Regions from separate parts of the Homo sapiens genome. Here all the other regions are linked to region 2. The links are contacts of gene promoters, found by promoter capture Hi-C in blood cells and fetal thymus (Javierre and others, 2016). All regions are on one chromosome and are shown on one strand. Each heading gives the region's core, a stretch centred on a gene start or on the middle of the fragment in contact. The rest is flanking DNA. Distances are from core to core; before and after follow the strand shown. Region 1 overlaps EZH1 (enhancer of zeste 1 polycomb repressive complex 2 subunit). Region 2 holds the start of PSMC3IP (PSMC3 interacting protein). Region 3 holds the start of COA3 (cytochrome c oxidase assembly factor 3). Region 4 overlaps EZH1 (enhancer of zeste 1 polycomb repressive complex 2 subunit).

Region 1 (2,860 bases), core at 52-2,551, 160 kb after region 2:
GTGGAAATGGGAAAACATTACTGAAATTGTATGGCAATAAAAAATTTAAGGAACGGCTGGGTGCGGTGGCTCACGCCTGCAATCACAGCACTTTGGGAGGCCGAGACAGGCGGATCACGAGGTCAGGAGATCAAGACCATCCTGGGTAACACAGTGAAACCCCGTCTCTACTAAAAATACAAAAAATTAGCTGGGCATGGTGGCGGGCACCTGTAGTCCCAGCTACTCAGGAGGCTGAGGCAGGAGAATGGCGTGAACCCAGGAGGCGGAGCTTGCAGTGAGCCGAGACGGTGCCACTGAACTCCAGCCTGGGCGACAGAGCAAGACTCTGTCTCAAAAAAAAAAAAAAAAAAAAAATTTAAGGAACAAGTTCTTAAACTTAGAGAGACTGAGATCAGAATACAAAAGTTCCAAACTATTAAATTTTTTCATCTACATAAGGTGTCCCTTTGCAGAAACAGCTTCTTTGTCTTAGGGGCAAATTCAGTGTCTTTGATAGTTTCTCTTGAATAATAATTTTATTAACCAGCAAGGCTAAGTAAGCCTTTGGAGGCAGATGGCACTACAGATTTTTATTTTTTAATTTTATTTATTTGTATTTATTATTTGTATTTATTATTATTTTTTGAGACGGAATCTCGCTCTGCTGGGATTACAGACGTGAGCCACCGTGCCCAGTCTATTTTTTTTATTTTTTTTTGAGATGGAGTCTCACTCTGTTGCCAGGCTGGAGTGCGTTGGTGCAATAACAGCTCACTGCAACCTCTGCCCCAGCTAATTTTTGTATTTTTAGTAGAGACAGGGTTTCACCATCTTGGCCAGGCTGGTCTGGAACTCCTAACCTCAGGTAATTCACCCACCTTGGCCTCCCAAAGTGCTGGGATTACAGGCGTAAGCCACCGGGCCTGGCCTAGATTTTTTTTTTTTTTTTTTTTTTGAGAAGGAGTCTCACTCTGTCACCCAGGCTGGAGTGCAGTGGTGCTATCTCAGCTCACTGCAATCTCCACCTCCTGGGTTCAAGCGATTCTCTTGCCTCCACCCCCCCTGAGTAGCTGGGACTATGCTCGCCACCAAGCCGGGTTAATTTCTGTATTTTTAGTAGAGGCGGGGTTTCACCATGTTGGCCAGGATGGTCTCCATCTCCTGACCTCGTGATCCACCTGCCTCGGCCTCCCAAAGTGCTGGGATTACAGGCGTGAGCTACCACGCCTGGCCCCTGGCCTATATTTTTAAATATTTCATCCTATTCCTTTTTTGATTCATAGTGTAATTGAAACCTGAATGATAGGGGTGAACCTATCCCTGCAAAGAGCTCTAGTAACACACCTTTGGGTCATTCTGGTGATCACCAATTTCATCAACATTTCAATTAAAATCAATTCTGTGACTAGGTACACAGCCTGATCTCTCAGTTAGGATCTATAAAGCACATCTCTAATTTATACCCTCCAACTTCTCTGAGGTATTTTCATCTGTCATTAGTTTGAGCTTCTGGGCACTACACACAGAAAGAACCTTCCTAACAGGAACCTGTGACTCTGAATTCTAATTTAAAATAAAATTATAACATTAGTATTTCCTAGTGTTGCTTAATTAAGAGAATCAGATCAGCTGGGTGCAGTAGCTCACACCTGTAATCCCAGCACTTTGGGAGGCCAAGGCGAGTGGATCACCTGAGGACAGGGGTTCGAGACCAGCCTAACATGCAGAAACCCCGTCTCTACTAAAAATACAAAATTAGCCGGGCATGGTGGTGGATGCCTGTAATCCCAGCTACTCGGGAGGCTGAAGCAGGAGAATCGCTTGAACCCAGGAGGCAGAGGTTGCAATGAGCTGAGATCGTGCCATTGCACTCCAGTCTGAGCAACAAGAGTGAAATTCTGTCTCAAAAAAAAAATTAGATCGTATGCACTGGAGGTAATGGTAACAAAAATCTAAACAGGATTAGTTTTTTTTTTTTTGAGACAGAGTCTCGCGCTGTCGCCCAGGCTGGAGTGCAGTGGCGCGATCTTGGCTCACTGCAAGCTCCATCCCCCAGGTTCACGCCATTCTCCTGCCTCAGCCTCCCGAGTACCTGGGATCACAGGTGCCCACCACCATGCCCAGCTAATTTTTTGTGTTTTCAGTAGAGACAGGGTTTCACCATAAACAGGATTAGTTTTTATGAGACCCAAAGGAAAATGCTGGCTCACAGGATTTATAACTCTGGTTTAATTTTATTTCATTTTATTTTGTTTTTTGAGAAAGGGTCCCACTCTGCCGACCAGGCATGATCATAGCTCACTGCACTTCGACCTCCCAGGCTCAAGGGATCCTTTGGCCCCAGCCTCCCTAGTAGCTGGGACTACGGGCACATGCCACCATGCCTGGCTAATTTTTTATATTTTCAGTGGAGACAAGATCTTTTTTTTTTTTTTTGAAACGGAGTCTTGCTCTGTTGCCAGGCTGGAGTGCAGTGGTGCAATCTCAGCTCACTGCAACCTCCGCCTCCCGGGTTCAAGCGATTCTCCTGCCTCAGCCTCCCGCGTAGCTGGGACTACAGGTGCAAGCCACCACGCCCAGCTAATTTTTGCATTTCAGTAGAGACAGGTTTCACCATGTTGGCCAGGATGATCTCGATCTCTTGACCTTGTGATCCACCCGCTTCGGCCTCCCAAAGTGCTGGGATTACAGGCGTGAGCCACTACGCCCAGCCTACAAGATCTTGCTATGTTTCCCAGGCTGGCCTTGAACTCCTGACTTGAAGTAATCCCCCTTCCTCAGCCTCCCAAAGGGTTGAGATTACAGACATGAGCCACCGTGCCCAGTGAGAACGCTGACTTGGAAGAGTAAAAGCAATCTCCTAACAGGCTAGAGCCCT
Region 2 (3,147 bases), core at 493-2,992:
CTCCAGCCTGGGTGACAGAGCGAGACTCCGTCTCAACAACAACAACAACAACAATAACAAAAAGAGATAAGGGCCTGAAAAAGAAACAATTAGCTCGGAGCATTCAAGGAAGATTTCTGGAAAAGGTGATGTCTAAGTGAAATCCTCAAGGAAAGAAAGAGCTGGCCAGGAAGAGAAGCAGGTACAGGGAAGACAACATGCAAAGGACAGAGCAGTAAAACACACCAGAATTATCTAGTGTTCGTGGATAGAAAAATAATGAGGATTGGTGAGGCCAGAGGCTGGCTGGGGCGTCTTCCGGTGCCTTTTACATGTTTTTTGCAGCACTAGAGAGCCATTGAAGAGTTTTAAATAGGGAAGGTGCATGACCAGATCTATTTAGACAGATCATTCTGACTGCAATGTTTAAGAGTTTAAGATATGTTTGAAGAGCCAAGATCTGTTAGGAGGATACTGCAACAAATAAAGAGGGCGTGAACTAGAGCAACCATGGCAGATGGAAAGGAGAGTGGATTCAAGAATGGAAAAATTAGCCAGGCTCTGTGGTTCACGCCTGTCCTCCCAGCACTTTGGGAGGCCAAGACAGGAGGATCACTTGAGCCCAGGAGTTGGGACCAACCTGGGCAGCACAGTAAGACCCATCTCTATAAAAATTAAAAAAATAAATAAAAACGGAAAAATCAGCTGGACTTGATGGTTGACTAGTAAAGGAAGTCAAGAATTGCTCCCAATTTCTGGTTTGGGTGAAGAGTAATTCCATTAGGGGAGGAGAATGTTAGAAAGAAACCAGTCCGGGGTGGGGGGAAGATGAGGCATTCTACTGTGGCAATTTTGACTCTGATATTAATGCCTGACAGATTCCAGCTGGAGGTCTGGGCTGGAGAATATAAATTTGATATGTGTGTTTAGAGAATCGGATGGAGGCAGGAGGAACATCATTTGGCAGAGGGTGTTGCTAATGTAGATGATAAGGAATAAGAGCTTTGGAGCGGAAATGGATCTTGGTAGCAACAATACAGAATCTTCTGTCATCCATCATATTGTAAATCTGGAAACCTCGTGAAGTTGGGATCCTAACAAGAGGAGTACACACCTTGATTTAAGGATGGTGGCCTAAGACAGGTGAGTTTTCCATGGGGGGCCTTGTCCCCAAAGAGTTCACACCAGGAGTAGATTCACCCGTTGTCGGGCTCTCATGGGTGACAATCGGCGCAAGTTCTCCTCACCTGATCCGCAAAATAGATCTTCTGCTTGCCGTACATCTTCTCTTTGATCTTGCCTTGTTGCGCCAGCTGCTCCAGCGTCTTCACCACCACCTGGCAGAGGAGAGAGAAGGAGCAATCAGAGGAGTCTGAGCCTGGGTCTGGGGAAATCCAGCCAGTGATGTGGAAAACGCCCAAGGCTCCAAAGGGCACGACCCCAGCCTGAATCCAGGGAGTCCGACGGAGAGGGAATCCCGGGAGAAGGTCCTCACCGCCTTGCCCAGTCCGTGTTCCCGCTGTAGGTTCCCGAACACATCCTGGGAGCTGTAGGGCCGGTTCTGCTCCTGCAGGTACCTCAGGAGGATCCCGGCGGCTACGGAGAGAAAGGCAGGGGAGGGGGCCACTCAACCGACCTCCTCACCCACTGCCCTCCCGGGTCTTCCCCGCGCCCACGGCGCCGTTACCTCCCGCCGCAGCTTCTGCCCGGCCTTTACTCATCGCCTTTCCCGCCACCCAACTCAGAAAGCCGGACGTTGTAGTTGCTCGGGGCGACGGCTCCTTCCGGCGACGGGGGCGGGCCTCGAACGGTGATTGGCTGAAGGGGAAGCCTTCCGGAGGAGCAAAGCGACCCCTCCCGGACTCCATAGTTCATTTCAGGTCGGAACTTGCGCATTCGGGCCGGACCTCAAGCCATGGGCCTCTGCGAAGGCGCCGGCGTGCCCACGGCTAAGAAACTTCCTCTTTCTGCTCCCGGGAACGAAGGCTGTAGCAGAGAAGGCCTTCAAGTTTCGAGACCCAGTTCCAGCCGCAGCTGAGCACTGGTGACCTTGAATTAAGTCTAATGTTGGGATTGGAAGACGCTTCAGACATCCGCTGCCGCCCTGGGCAAGCGACCAGCTCAAGGTTACCCCACAGGGACGTGCTCTGGTCCCACGGTCCAGTGCTCTTTTGTCGGTTAGTTTTGTCATTTGTAAAATAGGAACAGTAGATAGTGGTAGGAAAGTGGTTGTGAAAACTTAATAGAAAGCTAAGCGCCTTGGTCGGGCGCAGTGGCATGTCACCCCTGCAATTCTATCACTTTGGGAGGCTGAGGCGGGCGGATCGTTTGAGCCCAGGAATTCGAAACCAGTCTGGGCAATATGAAACCCCATCTCTGCAAATAAAGTACAAAAAATTAAGAGTGGTGGCGCGCTTCTGTGGTCCCAGCTACTCTGGAGGCTGAGGTGGGAGGGTCACCAGAGCCCCGGACATCGAGGCTGCAGTGAGCCACTATGAGCGCGCCACTGCACCCCATCCTGGCGACAGAGCGAGACGCAGTCTCGAACAAAAAAAAAAAAAGTGGGAAGGGGGGACAGCTAAGCGCCTTGGAGAGCAACCACCCTTATTTGCCTAATACCGAGCTTCGCACCCAGGGGGCACTCGACACCTACTGTAGTTTGGACGCCAAGGAACGATAGGGTTAGGAGGGGGCTACTGTTCAACCACAAAGCTTGTGGAAAAGTTTGTTAGCCCAGACAATCTCAGGGCAACACCTGGCAGGTGCTTTCCACCCCTGACCACAGTGGCCAATGGGACAGAGCCTGAAATAAATATTTCTAGTTTCTGAGGTGAGCTGAAGGCCAAAGAGCAGCTGTCCCTGCAGCTCAGACCATCCAGTGAAGGAGTAAGGTGCTACTTTTTAAAGCCTTCTGCTACCTACAACCTCCTTAGCCTTTAAAACGTGTGCTTGTCTCTGCACGTTTAGGAGACAATATTAAGAATTAGAAATGAAAGGGCCGAGCGCGGTGGCTCACGCCTGCAATCCCAGCACTTTGGGAGGCCAGGGCGGGCGGATCACGAGGTCAGGAGATCGAGACCATCCTGGCTAACACTGTGAAACCCCATCTCTACTAAAAATACAAAAAATTAGCCAGGCGTGCTGGTGGGCGCCTGTAGTCCAAGCTAC
Region 3 (2,851 bases), core at 330-2,829, 220 kb after region 2:
GGCAGGGGAGGATTTAAAAGGGACTTTCTTTTCACAATGGGAGGCAGGGGTGGAAGCTGCCCAGCCCTCTGGCTTCCTGCCATCAGTTAATGAGGAAACTGCAAGGTCAGTGATCCACTTGACTAAGTTAGGATCCCCTCCAGACCCCACCCTAGACCTGTATAGGCAGGTACCAGGGAAAGTTAAAAGAATGAAGACTGCTTGTCTTTCACCCTTCATCCACCTCTCTCTCCCTCCCTCTCTCTGGGGATGGGAAAAGCAGTAGAGTTACAGTATGTTCTTGTGGGTAGAGGACAGAAGAGTGACCTTCCTTCCCCTAAGACGTGGGTTCAGTCTCAAACTGCCCAGTGATCTCTCCCTTAAATCAGGTGGAAAGATCTCATGGAAAAAGTAATTCTAGTTAAACATTTACAGCTCCCTGGGGCAATGCCACCACTGCAGCTACTGCTTGTGAAGCTTTCCAGCATGAAGTGCCATATGCTGCCTCTCAGCCTCCATACTCACTTGACTCCAGGAGAATGACTCAGTTTATTATTCTCAATTTGACCCTATGTATCCCACTGTAGGCTCAAACACTGCACAGAGCTGCCACGTCTAACCTCGTAACAACTGCGTCCCTGGAAGGTGAAGGGGGTAAACCACAAAGTCAGAAACTTTGGGAAAAGCCACGGTCGCATGCACACCTCTCAAACAAGGAAACAAACTACAAGAAAGGGCTCAGTCATTGTACACAGCAAGTGTGCAGTGGGCAAAGTTCTGTTCTTTTGACATTGGCCAAATGCGTAAGTCCCTGGTTTCTTGGGCTCAATCACGGTCCAAGGTTAGTAAGAAGGCCAACAATGTTGTGAGCAGGATTCAATTTCTACAGGGTCATGGGGCATCATCCACCATGTGAAGGGGCTCCAGCAGGTTGGACATGATCAATACCCATCCAGATTAGGACCCTGACGCCCTTGCCAGAGCTCGGGCTCGGGCAGCTTTGGCCTCGTCTTCTAGCTCATCTAGGAAACGCTCCTGGGAAATCGAGTAGAAGGTGTAACCATCTGGGGAGGTAGGTTCAGGAAACCACACAGAATATGCACATTCCCCTTTCCTAGATTTGCTCTACCACTCTTGTTACTCTCCCAAATCAGTGATTCCGGCTTCCCGCCGCTGCTGTTTCTAAACCCTGAACCCCAATTCCGTTATTATTAATAAATCAAATTAAAAGAGTACCTTAGGAATAACAAAGGAAAGTACTACCCATTTTACCCCAAAATTAAACGGGTGGTTCAGCCCTCTTGCACACTCTGTTCCCCTGCCCCTATATGCGGTCCCCTTGAGTCTACAACACGGACGGATACAAATAGCCAACACCAGGGCCCCGATGCCTAGGCCGGTCACGATGTTCCGGGTTCGCCGCCGTGGTAGGACCTTCTGCCACTGGGCAAGCTCCGCCTGCCGCATGGAATGCAGTTGCTCGGGTGTCAGCTTCTCCCGAGTCGGGTCGATACGCTGAGCGAACGGGGCCTCTCCACGCTTAGAATCCAGAGGGTCACCAGCTCCCGAAGACGCCATGTTGCCACTCCTCCCTTCGCGGTGCCGCCGCGCGGGCCTCGCTGGGAACAGTAGCCCTTGGCCGCTGCAGTGGACTCTGGGAGTTGTAGTCCGCGTGCCCTTTGCGGGGCAGAGCCGCGGTTCCCGGGCACAGGGGATGGACGCGGGAGGTGAGAAGCGGACGTGCTTTCTGATTGGCTGAGGAGTCCGTGGCCGTTGGGGCGGGAAAAAGCTGTGGAGGGTTCGAGGCTGTGGTGGTAATTGGGTTTTCCTCAGACTTGAGGCGACGACACACTCATTGGAAGGGGACGAGGAATCCAGGGTGTGGCAGAAGACTGGAGAGGAGCTAAGGGGGTCGGTATGTGGATCCAGTGAACCCGTCCAGGTGCCCCAAGAGGCTCGTGAATATGGACGGACCCATGAGGCCACGATCGGCCTCCCTCGTTGACTTTCAGTTTGGAGTTGTCGCCACAGAGACGATTGAAGACGCCCTGCTTCACTTGGCCCAGCAGAATGAGCAAGCAGTGAGGGAGGCTTCGGGGCGGCTGGGCCGCTTCAGGGAGCCCCAGATCGTGGGTGCGGCTGCAGGGCCGGGGTGCTGGGTTCTTGGGAGACTGGGGCTTGTGTCTTTCAGGCACCGACCTTGAGATTCCGTTGATTTTATTCATTCAGAGAATGTTTGCTAACACCTCTCTGTGGGGTGCTGGGGATATAGTGATGGATAAGTCACAACAGTGCCCTCCCCTTGATTTCTTCGACATGTATGGAATACTTGAGTGGCACCGCTTGGCTAGAAAGATGAAATAGAGGGCCAGGCATGGTGGCTTACACCTGTAATCCCAGCACTTTGGGAGGCTGAGGTGGGAGGTTCACCTGAGGTCAGGAGTTCGAGACCAGCCTGACCAACATGGTGAAATCCTGTCTCTACTAAAAGTACAAAAATTAGCCAGGACTGGTGGCGCGCACCTCTAATCCCAGCTACTCGGGAGGTTGAGACAGGAGAACTGTTTGAACCCAGGAGGCGGAAGTTGCAGTGAGCCGAAATCGTGCCATTGCACTTCAGCCTAGACGACAAGAATGAAACTCCGTCTCAAAAAAAAAAAAAAAAAAAAAAAAAAAAAAAGGCTGGGCGCGGTGGCTCACGCCTGTAATCCCAGCATTTTGGGAGGCTGAGGCGGGCAGATCACGAGGTCAGGAGATCGAGACCATCCTGGCTAACATGGTGAAACCCCGTCTCTACTAAAAATACAAAAAAAAGCCGGGTGTGGTGGCGGGCGCCTGTAGTCCCAGCTACTCCGGAGGCTGAGGGAGGAGA
Region 4 (2,730 bases), core at 195-2,694, 140 kb after region 2:
CGTCTCTACTAAAAATATAAAAATTAGCCGGGCGTGGTGGCAGGCACCTGTAATCCCAGCTACTTGGGAGGCTGAGGCAGGAGAATCGCTTGAACCTGGGAGGTGGAGGTTGCAGTGAGCCAAGATAGCACCACTGCACTCCAGCCTGGGCAAAAAAGCGAGAGACTGTTTCAAAAAAAAAAAAAAAAAAAAAGAAAATATTCCCCATCTTTACTGTTTACAAAACTTGTAGAAAGAATTTATAATTTTTAAGAGGTAGTAAAGTTAAGTGTCAGGCAGTGATCCTGGGTTTACCAGAGTCCTTGCATGGAAAGAAAAAGTCTTCATTTTCTGTTCATCGTACCTGAAGAACTGGAGGCCCAGTCATTGCCTGTGTCCCTGTCACTGTCTCCTTCTTTAGTCTCAGCCACAGCAGAGGCTGAGGCATTGGAGCAGGAAGCACTGACTATGTGGTGCCTTCTCCGGCGACGACCAGAGCACTTGGAGCGGGGGTTGTGGAGCATGGCATACTCCTTTGCTCCTTCCTGCAGTGGACACATTACAGACAGGAAATAGGAACAGGCCCATCACCATATTGATCTCATCATCACAAACTTTCATCTTTACAACATCTGTCTACAATAATAGTGTCTTTTCTTTTTCTCTGTACCATATAATAAGTATGATCATATAACAATGAGAGCTGCTTAACAAAACTTACGTACTTTTTCACAAAAGAGTTGTCCTATAATGTTTTTTTGTTTGTTTGTTTTTTTGAGACAGGGTCTCTCTCTCTTGCCCAGGATGGAGTGCAGAGGCCTGCTCACTGCAGCCTCGAATTCCTGGGCTCAAGTGATTCCCTTGCCTCAGCCTCCCAAGTAGCTAGGACCACACGCACATGTCACCATGCCCAGCTAATGTCCTATAATCTTAAAAAAGATATAATCTATGCATCTGTGTCTTCAATTTTCCAGTGAGTTGTATCTAAAATTAACTTGCGTGTTACTTGTTTGGAATTTGAGAACACATTCTCCTATGGATGAAGAAATGAGATTCAGAGAGGGGAAGAAACTAGCTTGAGAGTATGCAGCTAATAGTTCCAGAGGGGTATAGGAATCAGGGCTCCTTGTCTCCCTAGGCCACTATTCTTTCCAGTCTACCACACTTTCTCTGTTTCCTTAATAAAATGTGTAATGCTTAATCTGTACAATCTTACTACTTAATTTTGAAACTTCCTCCCAAATCTGTGTATGAAACTCAGAAGAATATTGTTTCATTATTTTACAGCTATCACCCCCTTTTTTAAAAAATGAAATAATTATCACTCACCTAGATCATCAATATTTTCTCATCAGACTTGGTTTTCAAAGACTTCCTAGCTGTTTCTGAAAACTAAATCTATTTCTACAAAATAAAGGTTTATCTTCCAGTGACATTGTCTAGAGGCACTCAGAATGGTCCAGCATTTGACATACATGTAGGCTTTCCTACAATATAGCTTTTAACAAAACTAGGCTGTCCTGAGCCCCTGGTAATAGAATTGATTACCTTTATACCAAGAGGGTTGGGAAAGCACTGAAATCTGCATGTGGCGTGTGCCCAGCAGACTTCGGGGGGTTTGTGCTATGAGACCTAAAGTTCCTATGAGATTGTCCAAAACAAAAAAGCATGTCAGCAGGGCCTATGGTGGATCCGTGTGTGCTGAATGTATTGGTGCAGGAGCAAGTGTGCTTTCCTTAGCAAGCAGCAGAAAATTGTTGTGAAAGTGTTGAAGGCACAAGCAGAGTCAGAAAGCTCAATTTAAAAATGAAGTTTTTTTGAGTAATAAAAATGAAAAAAAAATAAAGGTTAACTATCATTAAGGGTATCTGGAATTTGGAATAATATACAGTAAGGCCTAAAGGAAATTCCAAAAGAGAAGTTTCAAAATTAACTGAACCTGATATTATGTGCCTATGCTGTGTATGAAGTATACAGTATCAATTATACTATTTTAAACATTTATATATATTTACATATAATTTTTATATATTATATATATAATATATAATATGGAAATATATTATATAATTATATAATTTATATAAATATAAAATATATATTTATATAATATATAAATATATGAAATTTATATAAATATATTTATATATAATTTATATAAATATAAAATATATATAATTTATGTAAATATAATTTATATATTATATATGTATTTATATACTATATATTACATGTATTTATATATTATAGATTATATGTATTTATATATTATATATAATAGATTATATGTATTTATATATTATATATTATAGATTATATGTATTTATATATAATATATATCATAGATTATATGTATTTATATATAATATATATTATAGATTATATGTATTTATATATAATATAATATATAATAGATTATATGTATTTATATATATATATATTTTTTTGAGACGAGGTCTTGCCCTGTCACCCAGGTGAGTACAGTAGCATGATCTCAGCTCACTGCAGCCTTGACCTTCTAGGCTCAACTGATCCTCCCACCTCAGCCTCCCAAGTCCAGTCCAGCTAATTTTTGTATTTTTTATAGACATGGGGTTTTGCCATGTTGCCCAGGCTGGTCTCGAACTCCTAGGCTCAAGCTATCCACATGCTTCAGCCCCCCAAATTGCTGGGATTACAGGCGTGAGCCACCATTTTAATATAATGGCCAAACATTTTAACATAAATAAAATCAAGTTTCCAGACCTAATT

What was found. The method cuts DNA at HindIII sites, captures the fragments that hold promoters and counts their contacts. A CHiCAGO score of 5 or more calls a contact.
Region 1: a fragment that was not itself captured here is called in contact with the fragment with the promoter of PSMC3IP in region 2 in 6 of 17 cell types (megakaryocytes, erythroblasts, M2 macrophages and 3 more); the score reaches 8.9 in megakaryocytes.
Region 3: the fragment with the promoter of COA3 here is called in contact with the fragment with the promoter of PSMC3IP in region 2 in 1 of 17 cell types (endothelial precursors); the score reaches 5.1 in endothelial precursors.
Region 4: a contact is called between a fragment that was not itself captured here and the fragment with the promoter of PSMC3IP in region 2, in 5 of 17 cell types (megakaryocytes, M2 macrophages, erythroblasts and 2 more). The highest score is 11.1, in megakaryocytes.

Annotation. Positions count from the first base shown.
Region 1 is chr17:42,737,841-42,740,700 of GRCh38, forward strand. All of the region lies in intron 1 of EZH1 (enhancer of zeste 1 polycomb repressive complex 2 subunit), which reads right to left. Among named protein-coding and RNA genes, the nearest start is that of EZH1, 5.8 kb to the right of the region's middle. The HindIII fragment of the contact is 9,431 bases long and covers 1-2,860 here.
Region 2 is chr17:42,575,987-42,579,133 of GRCh38, forward strand. PSMC3IP (PSMC3 interacting protein) reads right to left here and starts at 1,743. Exons shown (of 8, transcript NM_016556.4): 1 at 1,667-1,743; 2 at 1,475-1,575; 3 at 1,227-1,316. The coding sequence starts at 1,700. RefSeq lists a silencer at 1,655-1,704 and an enhancer at 2,005-2,094. The HindIII fragment of the contact is 6,888 bases long and covers 1-2,689 here.
Region 3 is chr17:42,797,125-42,799,975 of GRCh38, forward strand. COA3 (cytochrome c oxidase assembly factor 3) reads right to left here and starts at 1,580. Exons shown (of 2, transcript NM_001040431.3): 1 at 1,344-1,580; 2 at 501-1,043. The coding sequence starts at 1,557. The coding sequence ends at 937. CNTD1 (cyclin N-terminal domain containing 1) reads left to right here and starts at 1,737. Exons shown (of 7, transcript NM_173478.3): 1 at 1,737-2,112. The coding sequence starts at 1,944. RefSeq lists enhancers at 1,263-1,332, 1,473-1,522, 1,543-1,592. The HindIII fragment of the contact is 5,104 bases long and covers 455-2,851 here.
Region 4 is chr17:42,712,866-42,715,595 of GRCh38, forward strand. It overlaps EZH1 (enhancer of zeste 1 polycomb repressive complex 2 subunit), which reads right to left. Exons shown (of 21, transcript NM_001991.5): 11 at 344-524. It also overlaps the pseudogene RPL34P30. Among named protein-coding and RNA genes, the nearest start is that of MIR6780A, 6.1 kb to the left of the region's middle. The HindIII fragment of the contact is 9,418 bases long and covers 1-2,730 here.